Linked DNA regions of Homo sapiens: region 2 is linked to region 1. Evidence: promoter capture Hi-C in 16 types of primary human blood cells and fetal thymus (Javierre and others, 2016). All regions are on one chromosome and are shown on one strand. The core of a region is centred on a gene start or on the middle of the fragment in contact, and the rest is flanking DNA. Distances in the headings are between cores, read along the strand shown.

Region 1 (5,305 bases), core at 1,352-3,851:
ACAAAACGAAACAAAACCTTTACAGAGTAAAAGCCATGGAAGGAGCTTCTTAGTAAAAGAAACTAGTTTGTTAACTTTAATGCTGGCACTGTCCCAACTAAGTAATGAAACAACGACACTGTTCCAATTAAGAGATAAGACACCTTGATTTCAGAATGGTATAACACAAATTGGGGATGGTTTTATCTGGCTTATCCCTCCTTCTGTCAGCCCAGCCACCTTGTCCTTGCCACCCCAACTTTTTATTTATTTATTTTTTTTGAGACAGAGTCTTACTCTGTTGCCCAGCCTGGAGTGCAGTGGTGAGATCTTGGCTCACTGTAATCTCTGCCTCCTGGGTTCAAGTGATTCTCCTGCCTCAGCCTTCTGAGTACCTGGGATTACAGGCATGCATCACCACGCCCAGCTAGTTTTTGTATTTTTAGTAGAGACGAGGTTTCGTCATGTTGGCCAGGCTAGTCTCGAACTCCTGACCTCAGGTGATCCACCCGCCTCATTCTCCCAAAGTGGAGGATTACAGGCGTGAGCCACCGTGCCTGGCCACTTTGCCCCTTTATGTTGGGAACAAAGAAATCATACCAAAGATATCTGGCCCAAAAGCACTGGAGATATGGCATGGATACCCAAAGAACTGTGTATTCACACCATTATATTACAAAGTACTGACTGGCATGCCATTTAATGTATTTATTGATTAGCTCCAAATGGAACATTTTGGCTATGTGGCACTAACCTATGACCATGGTTACTTCCAGGATAGTTAGGATGATGTTTTTCAGGTTATGCTTAATCATATATTTGAGTAGTTTGTACTTTGCCAAAACCTGCAAATTTTCCTTATTTATGATCTCATTGGGTTCATCCTGTGTTTCATTGGTATGATCACTTAGCTTCCATCTTCATACCACAACTGAGTGTTGAAGATGTTATTTGGCATATAGAGGTCCTAACCAATTATACCCAAAAGATAGCTACATAAGTATTCCATTATTAAACAATAGTTATTCTTATGGAAAAGGCCATTATTACAAAACCGTATGGCTTTTGACATACTCACCGAAGCCCAGGGAGGAACTTGCATTATCATAAAAACTGTGTGTTATGTCTGTATCCCAGATGAATCAGATAATATCACTACGTTAATGGATAATATGAAAACCTTAACAACTAACCTTTCAGATCCAACACATCTTTAAACAACTGGCTAAGCAGCTAGTTTTGATCTTGAAGACTTGGTGGCAAAAGCTTTGCTTATTCTAGGAATCATAATCATTTGTTGTTGTCTTGTTTTTGTCTGCACTATTAGACTGCCACTGCGCCTGGCTATTAATCAGATTTTAAAATAAAGTTAAAAAAAATTTTTAAACAAATTTACACGAAAAGCAAGTACAGTGGTTCTCGAACATGATTGGGCGACAGACTGTACAGCTTGCCAGAAATAGGTTTCTCTCATGAAAATTCAACCCCCTCCACACACGGCCATCTACTTTCTTCTTCAGCAGGGACTGACACCAGGGCAACCGTATTTTCCTAAATACCTTAGGAAAGTAGTTCAAAACCTAGATATATCTTGGTCAGAACAAAACCTGGCAAACACTCATGATAAACGGTATATATAATTCCTTAAACGAAATATAGAGGTTTGTAATATAAAATAATCCATCTTTGTCTGTGGAATTCCTACTAATGAAATACGTTCTTGGAGACCCAAAGACTGAAGTTATACCACTTCTTCTTAATCTTTTAAATATTATTTGCAGGCCAGGCATGGTGACACGCTCCTATAGTCCCAGCTCCTCAGGAGGCTAAGGCAGGAGCATCGTTGGAGCCCAGGAGCTCCAGGCTGTAGCGTGCTGACAGCACTTGTGAATAACCTCTGCACTCAGCCTGGGCAACATAGTGGGACCCCATCACTAATAAAAAAGCGAGATCAACATTATTTATTCTGTTACTCGGGCATAAAATAAATATTAAGCACTTACTACATGCCAGAGTCTATTATGTCTGCTGCAGATATTGGCTGTCATAGAGTTATAACTAACAGGAAACCAAATAATTACGTAGTATAATTTTAAGTGGTGATAAGCACGATTGTTTCCCCCAAGCCATGCCCTTAATTTCTAACTCTTCAGATAGTGTTTCTTTAAAAAATTTCTTGCTAATTTAAAATAACTTTTGTTTTGAGGCAGGATCCCACTCTGTTGCTTAGGCTGGAATGCAGCGGTGAGATCTCGGCTCACTGCAGCCTCCATCTCCAGGGCTCAAGCCATTCTCCCGCCTCAGCCACCCGCGTAGCTGGACCACAGGCGCGCGCCACCAGATCTCAGTTCTCTCAACAGGACTCTCATTGCTAAGATCCAAGGATCCATTAATTTCCTTTTCCTTAACTCTTCTAGCCTCTGCAGCTTTCTTTCCTCATCCACTTTTTAAACAAACGCAGGCTTAAAAAGCAAGGAATATACCCGCCACACTCTCGGCTCCCAAACCGCTCTTTCCCTCCCTCTGCCGGCCACGCCTCTTATAGGCCCGGAAGTTTACCCCACCCTGCACCGTGATTCACCGGAAGCGCTCTAGGGAACCCTGGAGCTTCCGCGCCTGCCCAGTTTTGCTCCGAAAGACTTACCGAGGAGGGAGCTTGCGGTGCGTTCTGGGAAAGTTGCTGGGCCAGCTCCTTTGTTTCCAGTCTGAGCGTTGCGTTCGGTTTCCCGAGGGTCTTCTGAGGCACCGCGGCTGCGGGCTTCTGAGTTCCCGGCTCTCCGCAGGGAAGCCTCCTCTTCGTACCTCGTTTTTTGGCTCGTGGGGGGTCCTCCCACCGCTGGCCGACGCAGCCAGCATGTCCGGGGTGCGCGCAGTGCGGATCAGCATCGAATCGGCCTGCGAGAAGCAGGTCCATGAGGTGGGCCTGGATGGCACCGAGACGTACCTGCCCCCGCTGTCCATGTCGCAGAATCTGGCGCGTCTGGCCCAGCGGATAGACTTCAGCCAGGGTTCGGGCTCCGAGGAGGAGGAGGCGGCGGGGACCGAGGGCGACGCGCAGGAGTGGCCGGGCGCCGGGTCCAGCGCAGACCAGGACGACGAGGAAGGTAAGGCCTGCATCCGCTGCCCGAGTCCCCCGGTCTGGGTCCCAGCACCCGCGCGGGCCTCCGCCTCTCCCGCGATGGGGGTGATCTTGTGCGTGCGAGAACTTTTGAGTGTCCCTCTAGCGGAAGCGTAAGGATACTTGGTCGTCATCTTTTTGTTGCTGCCGGACAAGGTAGGACACGACTTTACGTAATACTCCTGCGGGTCTCCTTGAATGGCAGCGTTTAGAGACACTGTCAAACCGTGAAATGTTTAAATGAATGCTTCTCTGTAGAGGGCCTTTAATGTAGCACACTTAGTGGCTAAAAGAGCCCTAGATCGGGGCTCTGCCCCTTGCCGGCTGTGTGACCTTGGGCGAGTTACTTTGCATCCTTGTGCGGTGTGAATGATGATAGTAGCACCTGCAGAAAAGAGGTCTGTTTTGACTGAAATGTGTGACGAGGTCCAAGAGGTAGGCGGGTCCAGATCATGTAGAACCCAGTAGGCCGGGATAAGCGTTTGACTAGTGTTAAGACCACTGAAAGCTTTTGCAGGATAAGTAGAGATGGTTTTGTTAAAGTTTACTCTAGATGCTTTCTAATAAATGAATTATAGGGAAAGCAAAACTGGAAGGGAGGAGACTAGGAGGGAAGTGAAGAAATAATGAGTGGGTTTCAGATTCTCATTATTGTCAAGGATTTTTGAAAAAAAAATCAAAATTCTTAATTTAGTTATGCAGCACACCCAGTGTAAATGGGAATTTAAAGATGTCATTTCAGGGCAGTGCTGTTAGGATTATTAGGGGTCTATTTGCAAAAAAAGGTAAATACTACTTTATACCTCACACAAAAATTATTTCCACAGTAATTTTTGAGGATTGAAGTGCCAAATGAAGAAAGTAAAACAAAGTGTTAGAAGAAATAATGAAAGAATAGTTGTATTATTCTGGGAGTCGGATAGATCTTCTTAATTTCGGAAATAACAGGACAGGCATGGTGGCTCACACCTGTAGTTCCAACATTTTTGGAGGCCAAGGTGGAAGGATCACTTGAGCCCAGACTTCAAGACCAGCCTGAGCAACATAGGGAGCTCCTGCCTCTACAAATTAAAAAAATTAGCTGGGCGTGGTGGTGCACGTCTGTGGTCCCAGCTACTGGGGAGGCTGAGGGAGGAGGATGGATTCAGCCAGTGAGATCAAGGCTGCAGTGAGCTATGATTGTGCCACCGCACTCCAGCCTGGGTAACAGAACAAGACTCTAACATCCACACACACAACCACACACCTACCTACCTTACAAAGTATAGATATATTACTTACATAAAATTTAAAAATAATGGGAAAAGATGCCATAAGCAAAGTAAAAAGATAAATGACAGACTGGGAGAAGTTCTACACATATAACACAAATTTAGTTGATATCTTCTCTATTCAAAAAGTCCCTTCAGACTGAAAAGAAAATAATGACACTTTGGAAAAATAGGCCAAAGGTATCTGAAGGCTCATAGAGGAGAGACTTCAGATACCAATAAACAGAACATAGACTCAATCTCATTACTAGGGACTGGGAAATTAAAACATGATTAAGATACTCTTTCCATGCACAAAATTGACAGAAATTGAAAAGATTGTTAATATTCAGGGTTAGGAATGTGAACTGGTAGTGATTCTGAAAGACAATTTGGCAGTTTAATATGTGCCAACATTTAATTTTAACTTTTTTTGGTTTGTTTTGTTTTTTTTTTTGAGATGGAGTCTTGCTCTGTCGGCCAGGCTGGAGTGCAGTGGTGCAATCTCGGCTCACTGCAACCCCTGCCTCCTGGATTCAAAACGATTCTCCCACTTCAGCTTCCCTAGTATGTGGGACTGTAGGCGTGCGGCACCATGCCTGGCTAATTTTTGTATTTTTAGTAGAGATAGAGTTTCACCATGTTGGCCAGGCTGGTCTTAAATACCTGATGTCAGGTGATCCACCCTGCCTCGGCCTCCCAAAGTGCTGGGATTACAGGCCTGAGCCACTGCACCCAGCCGAAACTTTTAAATGTATATCTCCTTTGATTCACTATTACCACGACTAAAAATTTAACCTGCAGAAAAAGTTGCACATATACAGGGTATATATTCAAGATGTTTACCACTGCTAGCATTGTTGGAAGCAGTTTACTTGTTGGAAGCAATCTACATGTCCGTTAAATACAAGTGGTTAAACATACCGTACATCCATGTTCCAGAATATCATACAGTGTT
Region 2 (5,305 bases), core at 1,100-3,599, about 10 Mb before region 1:
GCTACTCAGGAGGCTGAGGTAGGAGAATCGCTTGAATCCTGGAGGCGGAGGTTGCAGTGAGTCGAGATCACACCATTGCACTCCAGCCTGGGCGACAGAGTGAGACTCGATCTAAAAAAAAAAAAAAAAAATTGGGAAAAAAGTTTGATCTTACCAGTTTCAAAATACAAAACGCAAAACCTTAGGGTATATCGAGGTTAGGGGTCCCAATGATCCCAACAGGATGTAAGCATAGTACTCAACAGGTGCTTTTTCAACCCATGCCCCTCTGTCCGTCTCCCCCTTTCCTCATCTAATGATCCTCAATGCCTGTTGTTTCCACGTTTACCATCATATATTCAATGTTTAGCTCCTACTTATAAGTGAGAACATGTGTATTTGGTTTTCTGTTCTTGGCATTAGGTTGCATAGGATAATGGCTCCAGTTCCATCCATGTTGCTACAAAGAGTATAATTTCCTTATTTTTATGGCTGCATTATATTCCATGGTGTATATGTACCACATTTTCTTTATCCAGTCCACTGTTGATGGGCACTTAGGTTGATTTCATGTCCTTGCTATCGTGAATGGCACTACAATGAACATACGGTTGCATGTGTCTTTTTTTTTTTTTTTTTTTTTTTGGCTTGAGGCAGGGTTTTGCTGCGTCACTCAGGCTGGAGTGCAGTCGTGCATGGCTCACTGCAGCCTCAACTTCCTGGGCTTAACTGATCCTCCTGCCTCAGGCTTCCAAGTAGCTGTGACTACAGGTGTGCACTACCACAACTGGCTAATTTTTGCATGTTTTGTAGAGATGGGGTCTTGCCATGTTGCCCAGGCTGGTCCAGAACTCCTGGGCTCAAACTATCCACCCGCCTAGGCCTCCCAAGTGCTGGGATTACAGGCATGAGCTGCGGTGCCCAGCTCTGTGTCTTTTTGATGGCATGAATTATTTTCCTTTGGGTATATACCCAGTAGTGGGATTGCTGGGTTGAATGGTAGTTGTATTTTAAGTTCTTTGAGAAATCTCCAAACTGCTTTCCATAGTGGCTGAACTAGTTTGCATTCCCATCAACAGAGTATAAGCATTCCCTTTTCTTCACAGCCTAACCAATATGTGAATTTTTTTTCTTAATAATTGCCATTCTGATGGGTGTGAGATGGCATCTCATTGTAGTTTTGATTTGCATTTCTCTAATGATCAGTGGTGTTGAGGATTTTTTCATGTTTGTTGGCTATTTGTATGTCTTCTTTTGAGAAGTGTGTGTTCATGTCCTTTGCTCATTTTTTAATTGGATTGTTTTATACTTCTTGGTTTGTTTAAATTCCTTATAGATTCTGGATGTTAGACCTTTGTCAGATGCATAGTTTGCAAATATTTTCTCCTTCCCATTCTTAGGCTATCTGTTTACTCTGTTGGTAATTTCTTTTGCTGTGCAGAAGCTCTTTAATTAGGTCCCACTTGTCAGTTTTTATTTTTGTTGTAATTGCTGTTGGGGACTTAGCTATAAATTCTTTTCCAAAGCCTGTGTCAAGAAGGGTATTTCCTAGTTTTTTTTCTAGAGTTTTTATAGTTTGAGGGCTTACTTTTAAATCTTTAATCCAGCTTGTGGTAATTTTTGTATATGGTGAGAGGTAGGGGGGTCCAGTTTCATTCTTCTGCATATGGCTAGCCAGTTATCCCACCACCATTTACTGAATAGGGAATGCTATCCGTGTTGCTTATTTTTGTTGATTTTGTTGAAGACCAGATGGTTTTAGGTGTGTGGCTTTATTTCTGGGTTCTCTATTCTGTTCTACTGGTCTATGTGTCTGTTTTTGTAACACTACCATGCTGTTTTGATTAGTTTAGCCTTATAGTATTGTTTGAAGTCTTGCTTTGTTCTTTTTGCTTAAGATTGCTTTGACTATTCAGGCTCTTTTTTGGTTCCAAATTAATTTTAGAAGAGGTTTTTCTAGTTCTGTGAAAAATGATGTTGGTATTTTGATAAGGATAGCGTTAAATCTGTAATTTGTTTTGGATAGTATGGCCATTTTAACTGTATTGATTCTTCCAACCCATGAGCATGGAATATTTCTCCATTTATTTGTGTTGTCTCTGCTTTCTTTCAGTAGTGTTTTGTAGTTCTCCTTGCAGAGATCTTTCACCTCCCTGGTGAGATGATCCTGAGTATTCCATTTTCTTTGTGCCTATTGTAAATGGGATTGTGTTCTTGATTTGATTCTCAGCTAGAACATTATTGGTGTATAAAAATGCTACTGATTTTTTGTGCATTGATTGTGTATCCTGAAACTTTACTGAATTTGTTTATCAGTTCCAGGGGCCTTTGGGAGAGTCTTTAGGGTTTTCTAGGTGTAGAATCATATCGTTGGCAAAGAGAGATAGTTTACCTTCCTCTCTTCCTATTTGAATATCTTTATTTATTTCTCTTGCCTGATTGCCCTGGCTGGGACTTCCAGTACTATGTTGAATAAGGGTGGTGAGAATGGGCATCCTTTTCTTGTTCCAGTTCTCAAGGGGAATGTGTTTCCAGTTTTGGCCTTTAGCAATTTAGTAATATATTTATGAAACTCCAAAAAGTAAATAGCCAGAGTTTCACTTCTTCTTTTTTTTTTTTTTTTTTGAGACAGAGTCTTGCTCTATCACCCAGGCTGGAGTGCAACGGTGTGATCTTGGCTCACTGCAACCTCAGCCTCCCGGGTTCAAGCAATTCTCCTGCCTCAGCCTCCCAAGTAGCTGGGATTACAGGCATGCGCTGCCACACCCAGCTAATTTTTGTATTTTTAGTAGAGGTGGGGTTTCGCCATGCTGGTCAGGCTGGTCTTGAACTCCTGACCTCAGGTGATCCACCCATCTCGGTCTCTCAGAGTGCTGGGATTACAGGCAACTGTGAGCCACCGCACCTGGCCTAGAGTTTCACTTCTAAGAAGCTATCCATAGTAAATAATCACATCTGTAGCTAAGATTTTTGAAAAGGATGACTATTGCAATGTTATTTATAGTAGTGAAAAATTGAAAATAGTCTAAGTATTCAAAAGTGATTAAATAACTTGCAGAAGTGTCCCAATTTGGAATATTATGCAAGAATTTAGTATTTTTAAAAATAATCTTAGTGACAGGAAAATCCTTAATACATGTATATACATAATTATAATTCTGTATAATTCTTATATACAGGATTATAATTATAATTATATACATGATTATAATTCTGTTAAATGATAGGATCCCTGCTTGGGAGGAGCTAACAGGCTAGTGGAAGATACAGACCAGTAAGTGTTATCACAATATTTTACTTAACTTAAGGAATTATTATGAAAAAAGTGGATCTCTTTATATATTAATTCATGTTACTATTATTTATATTAACATAAAGCTCTCTCTGTAACACACATATACAGTGTTGATTATGTTCTCTTTGATGGAAGTGGCAATTAGATCCAGGGATTCTTAATCATTCTCTGAGGCTGGCTGGAACTATATCAAGTGAGTGCAGGAGCTTGGGTCATCCATAATCTACCATGCAGGCCAGAGAAGCATAGGAAGGAAAAGCAGGAATAGCAGATGAAGTGAGTCCAGATAGTATTCAGCTAATAGATACAGCTCCTCTCTGAGACCTCCTAATGCTCCTGTGTATTTTCAGATTCTCCTTGGTTGCTATTGTTTCTTTGTTAAACATCTTAATTTATAAAAATATTTTTCCATAAATTTGTTAATGTTTTCTCATGTTTGTTGAGAGGAATAGAAAAGATGATGCATCTAAAATACTTAGCACTGGACCTGGCATATACAAGCACCCAATAAACAATAATAATACCTGCTTACTCAGAGTTAGGAAATAATTTCCATGGGTGTCTCATGTTTCTGTATGTTTTACAAATGGAGGTCTTCTCTGCCTTTTGTTGTGGCAGTTTTGTATAACGAACAACCTTAGGAAATATAGCATCTCTCTCTGGAGCAAAAGGCCTCATGCTTACTGCCTATTATAAAAGATTTGTGTTCTCATAGGTCAGGGTTCCTCTCTGTAATGCAATGTACTGTACGTGCTCAGGCATCTACGTAGCCCCAGCTGCATCATCCCCATGAACTTGGGGCCAAGGGGAGCTGACACAAATATGCCGATACTCGTGCTGCTCGCTGCACCATCAGTAATTGGGTTCTTTGTTTCTAGCAAGGAGTCTCATATCTTCTACCAGCATCCATGCAACCATGACAGGATAACTTGATAGCCTGCTAATAGGGTAAGATCTCGGACCCTTCACAATATTATTCTTCTCTGGACTTTTAAACATTTTTCATTTTTCCAGTTTTACTTACAGAAATATCTGAGTGCCAGCTAGGTTTAAGGTTAGATGTGAGGAATGTAAAGAAAACCAGTTCAATCCAACAACTATTCAAGTTCTTACTACGTGCAGGGATTTCTGCTAGGATACGCAAGGATTGCAAAGATTTCTGCTCTCCAGTAATTTGTAATATATTAATAACTGAGAGAATAGAACAAGCATTTTAATAGCCTTCAACACAGAGCTTTAATAGGTTAGTGTCATGTAAATGTTAAGAAAATAATAAATCCTATAATTCAGTTGAAGGTTAAATGCTTTTTGATAATGGTTATCAAGAAGAGATAGGATTTGAACCTTAGGGGTTTTAGTTAGTAGAGGTTGTAAGGCAAGGGGTCCAGGAGAGAGGATTGGAGTGAGCAAGTACAATTTACTCATCGCTTTGCTCCTTCCTACTCAGGGACTTTGCATATGGTAAAGCATCACTACTCAACTTGGAGCTCTTTCTCCTCTTTATCTGGCCAATTCCTTTATATCTTTCAGATTCCAGTTTAAATGGTGACTTTTTAGAGTAACTCTTTAAGAAGTCATTCCCACTCAAACAACATGCAGATTTGGTACTTTTGTTATGGACTCATACAGCAACCCAGCCTTCCCATGTCTCTGCACTTAATATTTGTTTTCTCCATTATGGTAGAGACCATATGTGTCATGGTGTCTCCAGTGCTTATCATGCCTGGGCCATAACAAGCTTTTGGTAAGTGTGTGTTGAATGAATGAGTGAATGTTCAAAATATGGTCATAGTTTGGTGAGGAAACTTCGTAGACTGGGGCATAGGAATTATATGAAGACTGGGTGGAATTGGGGTGAACAAAATGAAAAAGGTAGAATAAAAAAGACTAAGGAAATTGAATTTCATACAGTGGACTTGCAGGAGATTTTGAAATTTTTTGAGCTAAAATAGATAAAAATCAGTTTGAATTTCTTTCTAGAAAATAACTATTTGCCATTTGCTAGTGTAGGCAAATGAATCCTTTCCTCTT

Evidence for each region. Contacts are between HindIII fragments. The CHiCAGO score rates a contact against its expected background, and 5 or more counts as called.
Region 2: a contact is called between a fragment that was not itself captured here and the fragment with the promoter of MED17 in region 1, in 2 of 17 cell types (non-activated CD4 T cells and total CD4 T cells). The highest score is 6.1, in non-activated CD4 T cells.

The regions. Positions count from the first base shown.
Region 1 is chr11:93,781,681-93,786,985 of GRCh38, forward strand. MED17 (mediator complex subunit 17) reads left to right here and starts at 2,602. Exons shown (of 12, transcript NM_004268.5): 1 at 2,602-3,083. The coding sequence starts at 2,834. RefSeq lists enhancers at 2,423-2,717, 2,659-2,878, 4,887-5,305 and silencers at 3,009-3,138, 3,140-3,334. The HindIII fragment of the contact is 2,360 bases long and covers 1,244-3,603 here.
Region 2 is chr11:83,287,134-83,292,438 of GRCh38, forward strand. All of the region lies in intron 1 of CCDC90B-AS1 (CCDC90B antisense RNA 1), which reads left to right. Among named protein-coding and RNA genes, the nearest start is that of CCDC90B, 3.4 kb to the left of the region's middle. The HindIII fragment of the contact is 5,322 bases long and covers 1-5,010 here.